Linked DNA regions of Homo sapiens: all the other regions are linked to region 3. Evidence: promoter capture Hi-C in 16 types of primary human blood cells and fetal thymus (Javierre and others, 2016). All regions are on one chromosome and are shown on one strand. The core of a region is centred on a gene start or on the middle of the fragment in contact, and the rest is flanking DNA. Distances in the headings are between cores, read along the strand shown. Region 1 holds the start of C2orf68 (chromosome 2 open reading frame 68). Region 2 overlaps USP39 (ubiquitin specific peptidase 39). Region 3 holds the start of SH2D6 (SH2 domain containing 6).

The links. The method cuts DNA at HindIII sites, captures the fragments that hold promoters and counts their contacts. A CHiCAGO score of 5 or more calls a contact.
Region 1: a contact is called between the fragment with the promoter of C2orf68 here and the fragment with the promoter of SH2D6 in region 3, in 8 of 17 cell types (endothelial precursors, erythroblasts, monocytes and 5 more). The highest score is 7.6, in endothelial precursors.
Region 2: a fragment that was not itself captured here is called in contact with the fragment with the promoter of SH2D6 in region 3 in 1 of 17 cell types (endothelial precursors); the score reaches 5.5 in endothelial precursors.

Annotation. Positions count from the first base shown.
Region 1 is chr2:85,610,700-85,613,399 of GRCh38, forward strand. It overlaps C2orf68 (chromosome 2 open reading frame 68), which reads right to left and starts at 1,367. Exons shown (of 4, transcript NM_001013649.4): 1 at 1,179-1,367; 2 at 969-1,087. The coding sequence starts at 1,285. It also overlaps a transcript of USP39 not described here. RefSeq lists silencers at 1,138-1,519, 1,139-1,208, 1,695-1,867 and an enhancer at 1,479-1,708. The HindIII fragment of the contact is 26,854 bases long and covers 1-2,700 here.
Region 2 is chr2:85,638,838-85,641,537 of GRCh38, forward strand. USP39 (ubiquitin specific peptidase 39) reads left to right here. Exons shown (of 13, transcript NM_006590.4): 9 at 366-554; 10 at 2,139-2,281. Among named protein-coding and RNA genes, the nearest start is that of USP39, 24 kb to the left of the region's middle. The HindIII fragment of the contact is 4,567 bases long and covers 1-2,700 here.
Region 3 is chr2:85,417,437-85,420,136 of GRCh38, forward strand. SH2D6 (SH2 domain containing 6) reads left to right here and starts at 1,278. Exons shown (of 24, transcript NM_001394463.1): 1 at 1,278-1,494; 2 at 1,593-1,808. It also overlaps a transcript of CAPG not described here. RefSeq lists enhancers at 619-728, 725-1,260, 739-898. The HindIII fragment of the contact is 6,915 bases long and covers 1-2,700 here.

The DNA of each region.
Region 1 (2,700 bases), core at 117-2,616, 190 kb after region 3:
CCTGAGCTCAGGAGTTCGAGATCAGCCTGGACAACGTGGAGAAACCCCTTCTCTCTCTCTCTTTTTTTTTTTTTTTTGAGACCGAGTCTTGCTGTGTTGCCCAGGCTGGAGTGCAGTGGCGCGATCTCGGCTCACTGCAAGCTCCGCCTCCCGGGTTCACGCCATTCTCCTGCCTCAGCCTCCCGAGTAGCTGGGACTACAGGCGCCCACCACCACGCCCGGCTAATTTTTTGTATTTTTAGTAGAGACGGGGGTTTCACCATGTTAGCCAGGATGGTCTCGATCTCCTGACCTCGTGATCCGCCCGCCTCGGCCTCCCAAAGTGCTGGGATTACAGGCGAGAGCCACCGCGCCCAGCCGGGGAAACCCCTTCTCTACAAGAAATACCAAAATTAACCGGTGTGGTGGCACACGCCTGTGGTCCCAGGTACTCGGGAGGCTAAGGCTGCAGTAAGCCCAGATCGCACCATTGCACTCCAGCCTGGGCGACAGAGACCTAGTCTCAAAAATAAAATAAAAACATTTTAAAAAAAGTAATAATGCTTAACAAAAATTGACCGTCATATATTAACCAGTGTGATCTCTAGGTAGCAGAGAAGCTGGGGAAAGGCCATTTACTGGGTTCATTCCGCAATTATGTGCTGGTCGCTCATCGCTGTGCCAGACTTTCTCTTTGCTAGGTAGCGGAGCACCTTACTAAAATACAGCACGGTGGGGCAAACCGGCAGATAAACTTCTTGCTGGCTCCCCGATACTCTGACAGCGATGCTTAACTGGGGGCTTATGAGTCGTCCCAGTTCTTGGTGAGAATCATTCAGCGGAGATTTGGGAGCGCTGAGGTGGAGGTTCCGGAAAGAGACGAGATGAGCTGAACCTTAGGAGTAAGAAGTGGTTTTTCCCTATAGAGAAGGGGAGTGCGTTGCAGGAAGAGCGCGCGGGCTGGAGGCAGGCGGGGCGGGCGGCCTCACCTCGGTGTCGCGGCAGGTACACCTGCAGGTCTGGCTTGCGGGGCCGCGTCGGCGCGGGCGTGTGCCGCCTCCTCACCTTCTCCTTGGCCGCCTGCTTCACCTTCTTGTCATAGTCGTCCCTGCGGGGAGCCGAGCGGGAGTCAGGGACTGTCGGGCCGGGCCAGGCCAGGCCAGGAGTGGTGGCGGCGGCGGCGCAGGGCGGGGCGGTACCGAGCGATCTGGTTCCGTCGGATATGGTGCACGAAGCCGTGGTTCATGTCCAGCCGCCCCCCAGGCTTGCAGCAGTGCCCCGGCCGGGGATGCGGCCCCGCCTCCATCAGGAGCCGGGGACGCAGAGTCGCCGCCGCCTCGACGGCCCCAACAACAGCCACCCGCCCACAGAGCTCCGCGCCGCCCCTTGCTCAGCTTCCGGCCCCGCATCCTGACTTCCGGTCTGGGAGGCCCCGGCCTGGCCAAGCGATGCAGCGCACGGAGTTTTCGGGTCTGGTCGGGTCGGGTGGAGTAGGGTATGCTTGACTTCCACCCCCCGGACGGAGGGCTTTTGTTTTTGTTTTTTTTTGTTTGTTTTTTCGTAACATATCAATAGGAAACAAGGACTTCGGCTTACAGCTGATACCAGAACCTTCAGAAAAATGCAAATCATCTATAACACAACTCGATGCTTACGGCGGTGCCTTCCCATCTTTTTTCTGGTAATAGGATGCTGTGCAATCCATCGCCATCTGCGTGACTTTGGCTGACTGTGTAACGCTGCCACTTCTCAGTTTCCTCATTAGTAAATGGGAACACCTAGAGCACCTACCTCAAATGGATTGTGAGGCCTTGAAGTGCTCAGGCAGGGCAACAGCGGCGCCCAGGCCGCAGGCGCCGCGAAGGCTCTCCTGGCCCGGCTTGCCTCCTGCTCACGGCGCCGATGGCTTAACTGTCCCCGCGGGAGGACCCAGGGTTTTTGAGGGACCTACGGGTGTATTATTTTCTTTTTTATTTATTTTTCCTTTTTTTTTTCTTTTTGAGAAGGAGTCTCACTCTGTCGCTCAGGCTGGAGTGCATTGGCGTGATTTCGGCTCACTGCAACCTCCGCCTCCCGGGTTCAAGCGATTCTCCTGCCTCAGCCTCCCGAGTAGCTGGGACTACATGCGCGTGCCACCACGCCCGGCTAAGTTTTGTATTTTTGGTAGAGATAAGGTTTCACCACGTTGGCCAGGCTGGTCTCGAACTCCTGACCTCAGGTGATCCGCCTGCCTCGGCCTCCCAAAGTGTTGGGATTGCAGGCATGAGCCACCGTGCCCGGCCCCTTTTTTTTTTTTTTCTATTTTTTCTGACCACTGGGTTCACGTCACAGCGTGTAAAATTCTCAAGTCCTTTTACAAAAGTCAAAATCAGGAATTCATGATTAGGACAGGGACAAACGGCTGGATGCAGTGGCTCATGTCTGTAATTCCAAAACTTTGGGATGCCGAAGTGGGAGTATCGCTGGAGGGAGGAATTTGAGACCAGCCTGGGCAACACAGCGAGACATCGTCTCTACAAGAAAAAAATACATTAAAAAAGAAAGAAAGAGCCGGGCGTGGTGGCTCACGCCTGTAATCCCAGCACTTTGGGAGGCCCAGGCGGGCAGATCAAGAGGTCAGGAGTTCGAGACTAGCCTGGCCAAAATGGTGAAACCCCGTCTCTACTAAAAAAAAATACAAAAAATTAGCTGGGCTTGATGGCCGGTGCTTGTAATCCCAGC
Region 2 (2,700 bases), core at 201-2,700, 220 kb after region 3:
ATTTTTTTTTTTTTTTGTAGAGATGGAGTCTCACTGTGTTGCCCAGGCTGGTCTGGAAGTCCTGGACTCAAGCAGTCCTCTCACCTTTGTTCCCAAAGTGTTGAGATTACAGCCGTGAGCCATCACACTTGGCCTCAGGGCTTTTTAGATAGTCTGGTATATAAGCAAAATATCTTTAAAGAAGGAAACCTGTTGGTTCTTAAGTTAATCTAACCAGGTGGTGCATGCCAAACTGCCCAATCTCTCGGGCACTTCTCTTTGTTCTTTCAGATGAAGGAAATGTCGGCGTGGTAAAACATCGGTTCTGTGTTGGTTCCTATACCCGTCACACTCCTTTCCTCTCTTTTCTTCTCATTCATTTCTAGCCAGCAGAAGAAAAAGAGCAGTTGCTCCATAATGACGAGTACCAGGAGACAATGGTGGAGTCCACTTTTATGTACCTGACGCTGGACCTTCCTACTGCCCCCCTCTACAAGGACGAGAAGGAGCAGCTCATCATTCCCCAAGTGCCACTCTTCAACATCCTGGCTAAGTTCAATGGCATCACTGAGAAGGTAGCCCATTAACACACCTGCCCTGCCTATACTTACCCTCGCTCTCTCGACTTTTTCATTTTCTTTTTTTTTTTTTTTTCAAGACAGAGTTTTGCTCTTGTCGCCCAGGCTGGAGTGCAGTGGCGTGATTTCGGCTGACTGCAATCTCTACCTCCCAGTTTCAAGCGATTCTCCTGCCTCAGCCTTCCTAGTAGCTGGGATTACAGACATCCGCCACCATGACTGGCTAATTTTTTATATTTTTAGTAGAGACAGCATGTTGGCCAGGTTGGTCTCGAACTCTTGACCTCAAGTGATCAGCCTGCCTCGCCTCCCAAAGTGCTGGGATTACAGGCGTGGGCCACCACACCTGGCCCATTTTCATTTTATATGTAAGAATCACCACATGTATGTGACGTATTTATTATAAATTATATTGACTTTATTGAGCCTCCCAGACTCGTTGGTATTTCTCACTGGTCACCCCCAACTCTTAACTTATAGTGCCCCTTTTTATTATTTTTTGAGACAGGGTCTAGCTTTATCACCTAGTCTGGGTGATCATGGTGGCGTGATCATGGCTCACTGCAGCCTCAAACTCCTGGGCTCAAGTGATCCTCTCACCTCAGCATCCTAAGTAGCTGGGACTAGACACACTCCACCACATCCAACTAAGTATTTTTGTAGAGAGAGTGCTCACTTTGTTGCCCAGGCCATTCTTTAACTCCTGGCCTCAAGGGATCCTCCCACCTCGACCTCCCAAAGTGTTGGGATTACAGATGTGAACCACTGCCCAACCACAGTGCCCCCTCTTGTACTTCTCATATATCCTGTTTTCAGCTTTCTGCCTGCCTCTGGGGTAGTATAGAGAAAGGAAGGTCATTTAGGAGAGGAGAAACTCCAAAAAGTGGGGAGACATACTTTTTTTTTTTTTTTGAGATGGAGTCTCACTCTGTTGCCTAGGCTGGAGTGCAGTGGTGTGATCTCAGCTCACTGCAACCTCCACCTCCCGGGTTCAAGCGATTCTTCTGCCTCAGCCTCCCGAGTAGCTGGGACTACAGGTACATGCCACCATGCCCAGCTAATGTTTGTATTTTTAGTAGAGATGCGGTTTCACCCTGTTGGCCAGGCTGGTCTCGATCTCCTGGCCTCAAGTGATCTGCCTGCCTCAGCCTCTCAAAGTGTTGGGATTACAGGCATGAGCCACCGTGCCTGGTTAGTTTTCTTTCTTTACATATATATATATATATTTTTTTTTTCTTTTTTTTTCTTTTTCCTTTTTAGTAGAGATGGGGTTTCACCATGTTGTCAAGGCTGGTCTCGAACTCCTGTGCTGAAATGATCCCCCTGCCTCGGCCTCCTACAGTGATAGGATTATAGGTGTGAGCCACCAGGCCCGGCCTTTTTTTTTTTTTTTTTTTTTAAATCAGCCTTAGCCAAACTGCACATCCTAAGCCTCATACATAATTTCTCGGACCAGGAGTCTTGTGAACTTAAGTGTGAGGCAAAATTATATTTTAAAAAATCGAAATGAAAAACTCATGCCCCTGCTCTAATACTACTGAACTTCAGCACTAATTTGAGAATTTTCTTTTCTTTCTCTAGGAATATAAGACTTACAAGGAGAACTTTCTGAAGCGCTTCCAGCTTACCAAGTTGCCTCCATATCTAATCTTTTGTATCAAGAGATTCACTAAGAACAACTTCTTTGTTGAGAAGAATCCAACTATTGTCAATTTCCCTATTACGTAAGTAACATCCTGCCTCACTTCTCTCACGGGGAGTGAACCTGGATTTCTTCTCTTGTATTTTTACCAGTATTAATTTTGGACTGTCTTAGTTGGGGATTACAAGGAACAGAGCCTACCTACAGTAGATAAGAGTTTTTATTGGAAGGATACACTTATTTCAGGGACCACAAAAGATTGATGTTTATTGGGATGCAATCCCTATTTTATCTTCTCTCCTGTTGCTAGCTGGAAATTATAGTCTTCCTGCGTAGAGAAGAAGAAATGATGCAAGTAGGATAAGACAGGTAGGATTCTGCCTGGTTTGGAAGATGTCCTGAGTAGTGAGGGTCTGCCCATCTATTTGCTGGCCATCACACCTTTTTGCACACTAGAGTTGTACTAGATGCTTTTAGTTTGCTTCCTTCCAACTCAGAAAA
Region 3 (2,700 bases), core at 28-2,527:
CAGTTGTGAGTCCTTTCACATGCAAACAGCTATCTCAGCTCTTTTTTTTTTTTTTTTTTTTTTTGAGACAGAGTCTGGCTCTGTTGCCCAGGCTGGAGTGCAGTGGCACCATCTCGGCTCACTGCAAACTCCGCCTCCTGAGTTCAAGCAATTCTCCTGCCTCAGCCTCCCGAGTAGCTGGGATTACAGGCACGTGCCACCACGCCCGGGTAATTTTTTCTATTTTTAGTAGAGATGGGGTTTCGACATGTTGGCCAGGCTGGTCTTGAACCCCTGACCTCAGGTGATCTGCTTGCCTCAGCCTCCCAAAATGCTAGGATTACAGGCGTGAGCCACTGCGCCCGGCCATACCCTCCCTTTTGAGGTGAGGCTCTTGAAGGCCCAGACCTTTCCTCCAGTGCTTTGAGGTCTGATCCTGATGATAATAACACCTCACTCATAACCTGGACTTCACAGTTTACAAAACACCCCTCCTCCTCACCCCCTCCCAAACTCGGTTTATTTTTGTCGTTAAAGCAGAGTTGTAGGCCAGGGTGGACCATAGGTTTTCTTGGTCACGAGAGACTTCCTCCCTCCCTGGGCTCCCCTCTGTAGTGGTGCCAAATAAAAATCTGATCAGTCAAGCCTGTAAGGTAACTAGCGCTAATGTGCAGAGCCAGTCCTGGGCAGGCCTGTTCATTATTTTGCACACTCTTACACCGAAAGGGCCCAGGACCCTCGCCTGACCCAGCCTTGCCTGCCAGGCCTGGGCTGGGTCTCCCAGCCCAAATTCTCACAAGAGGGCCGACTCCGGCCAGAGCGCGCCCCTCTTTGTGCCTCGGTTTGCCCACCTAGAGGTCAGTCCCGCAGGCGTGGCGGGTACATCTCAGGGTCGGCAGAAAGTGCCACCGGGAGCCCAGCCGGAGTTGAGGGCCTCGCGCCGGGCCCACTGTCCAGATCCAGGGCTCACGAGAAAAACGAGGACGCAGGAGAGCCACACGCCAGGACGCGTGTAAGGCCCCAACCCGGCCCCAGCCTGGGCCCTAGACCCCTAAGAACTACAAATCCCAGCAGGCAGTGGGCCGCGGGGCGGGGTCTCGGAAGCTGCGGCCTGTGGTGCCTTTGCTGAGCCCAGGTCCGGAGGGCCCTCGGGGACGGGAGCACCACAACAGACCCCCGGACACACTTACACACACAGTCTCACAAACACACAGTCACACACGCACACACACACACGCGCGCGCGCGCGCCTTTTGGCCCCTCCCCTACAAACTACAAATCCCGGCAGGCAGCGGGCCGTTGGGCGGGGCCTTGGGTGCTGATCCGGACGCAAAGATTGCGCCAGCCAGGGTGGGATCCCGGTAGCTAGGTGGGGGCTACCCTGCTGGGGAAGAGATGGCCTTCTCTCCTCGCAAACCCAGCTCCCCACCCCTGCACGCGCCCCTCTGCCCTGGAGTCGCTGGTCCGAGCCCTCCTTCTCTGCGAACCTGAGCCCCGCCCTGCCCTCCCTACGAGGTTGGGGCCGTGGGAGATGAAGATGGTGGGTGGGGGGTTGGGCCCACAGCCTGCTAAGCAGGCAGAGTGGCCTCCTGAACCCTTCCTCCATCGCCTAGAGCAAACTCCCATTCCTGGAAGGAGGAGCAGCCCAGACCCTGAGACTGGACTAGGTCTGTTAGGGTCCCTGTGTGGCCGGCAGGACTCGTGGTGAAGCCCGGGGAAGGCCTGGGTCCTCCAGGTCAGGGATGTAGGTCCCAGGGTGTGCAGGCCGCGGTATCTGACCATCGTCGGCGCCCTGCGCCCAGGCATCAATTTTACATGGCAGAGTCAAGGTGAGGTTAGGAGGCTGCCAGGAGGTAATAACCAGGGCGCTCGCATTCAGCATCCTCTCTCTCAAAGCACTCTCCTCACACCTCAGGGTCAAATGTCAGAGCTCTTGTCCTAACTTCCCAGGTTGCCCAAGGAGCTTCTGAGGCGCTACAGAAGGGACTTACCCAGACCCTTCAGTGCAAGCCAGGAACTCAGGGTCCGGCCTGCTCGGTAGGATGAGCTGTGCTGAGGCCCTACTTCATCCACCCTTCTGGGCCAGGGCAGCCTCTTTCCAGAGGCCTCTTCTCAGCTGATTTCTGGCTCCCAAGCGGGAGACTCAGGTTACACCTGTATCGGGAGCAGTGACACCACAGTGGCCAGCAACACATTGGACTTTCTGTCTCCAACTCCATTTTCAGCTTTTACACTTCCTGATCTGGGCATATACTGCTACATACTGGATCATCAAGGAAGGAGGAAAATACCTAGTCAATGAAGGTTTAGCCATGACCTTGTAAGTCAGTGAGATTTCATTCTTGTGTGGTTAGTTCGAGGCGAGCTACTTCCTAGAAATATTTCATTTGATCTCTAAACACCTAGAAACAGCTCCAAAAGGGATATTCAAAGTAGATTGCCCAGATTCTCTTGATAGCAGATGTGGGGTTCATATTAACTGGTCGCGTGGTCTCTAAGCATGCCTATTTCTGCCTGGGAAGTTCTCAAAGGTTTGGTTTTCTGAGTGTTTCTGTTAAAACAATCAGCCTTTTGTTGAGTAGCCCTTTTGCCCCTAGAGAGGAGAGATAGGTACCATAGAAACTTGGAGACAGCTATTGACTCAGTCCCTGGACTCTTTAATAAGAGCCCGTTCTGTTTTGTTTGTTTGTTTGTTTGTTTGTTTCCTGAGACAGAGTCTCG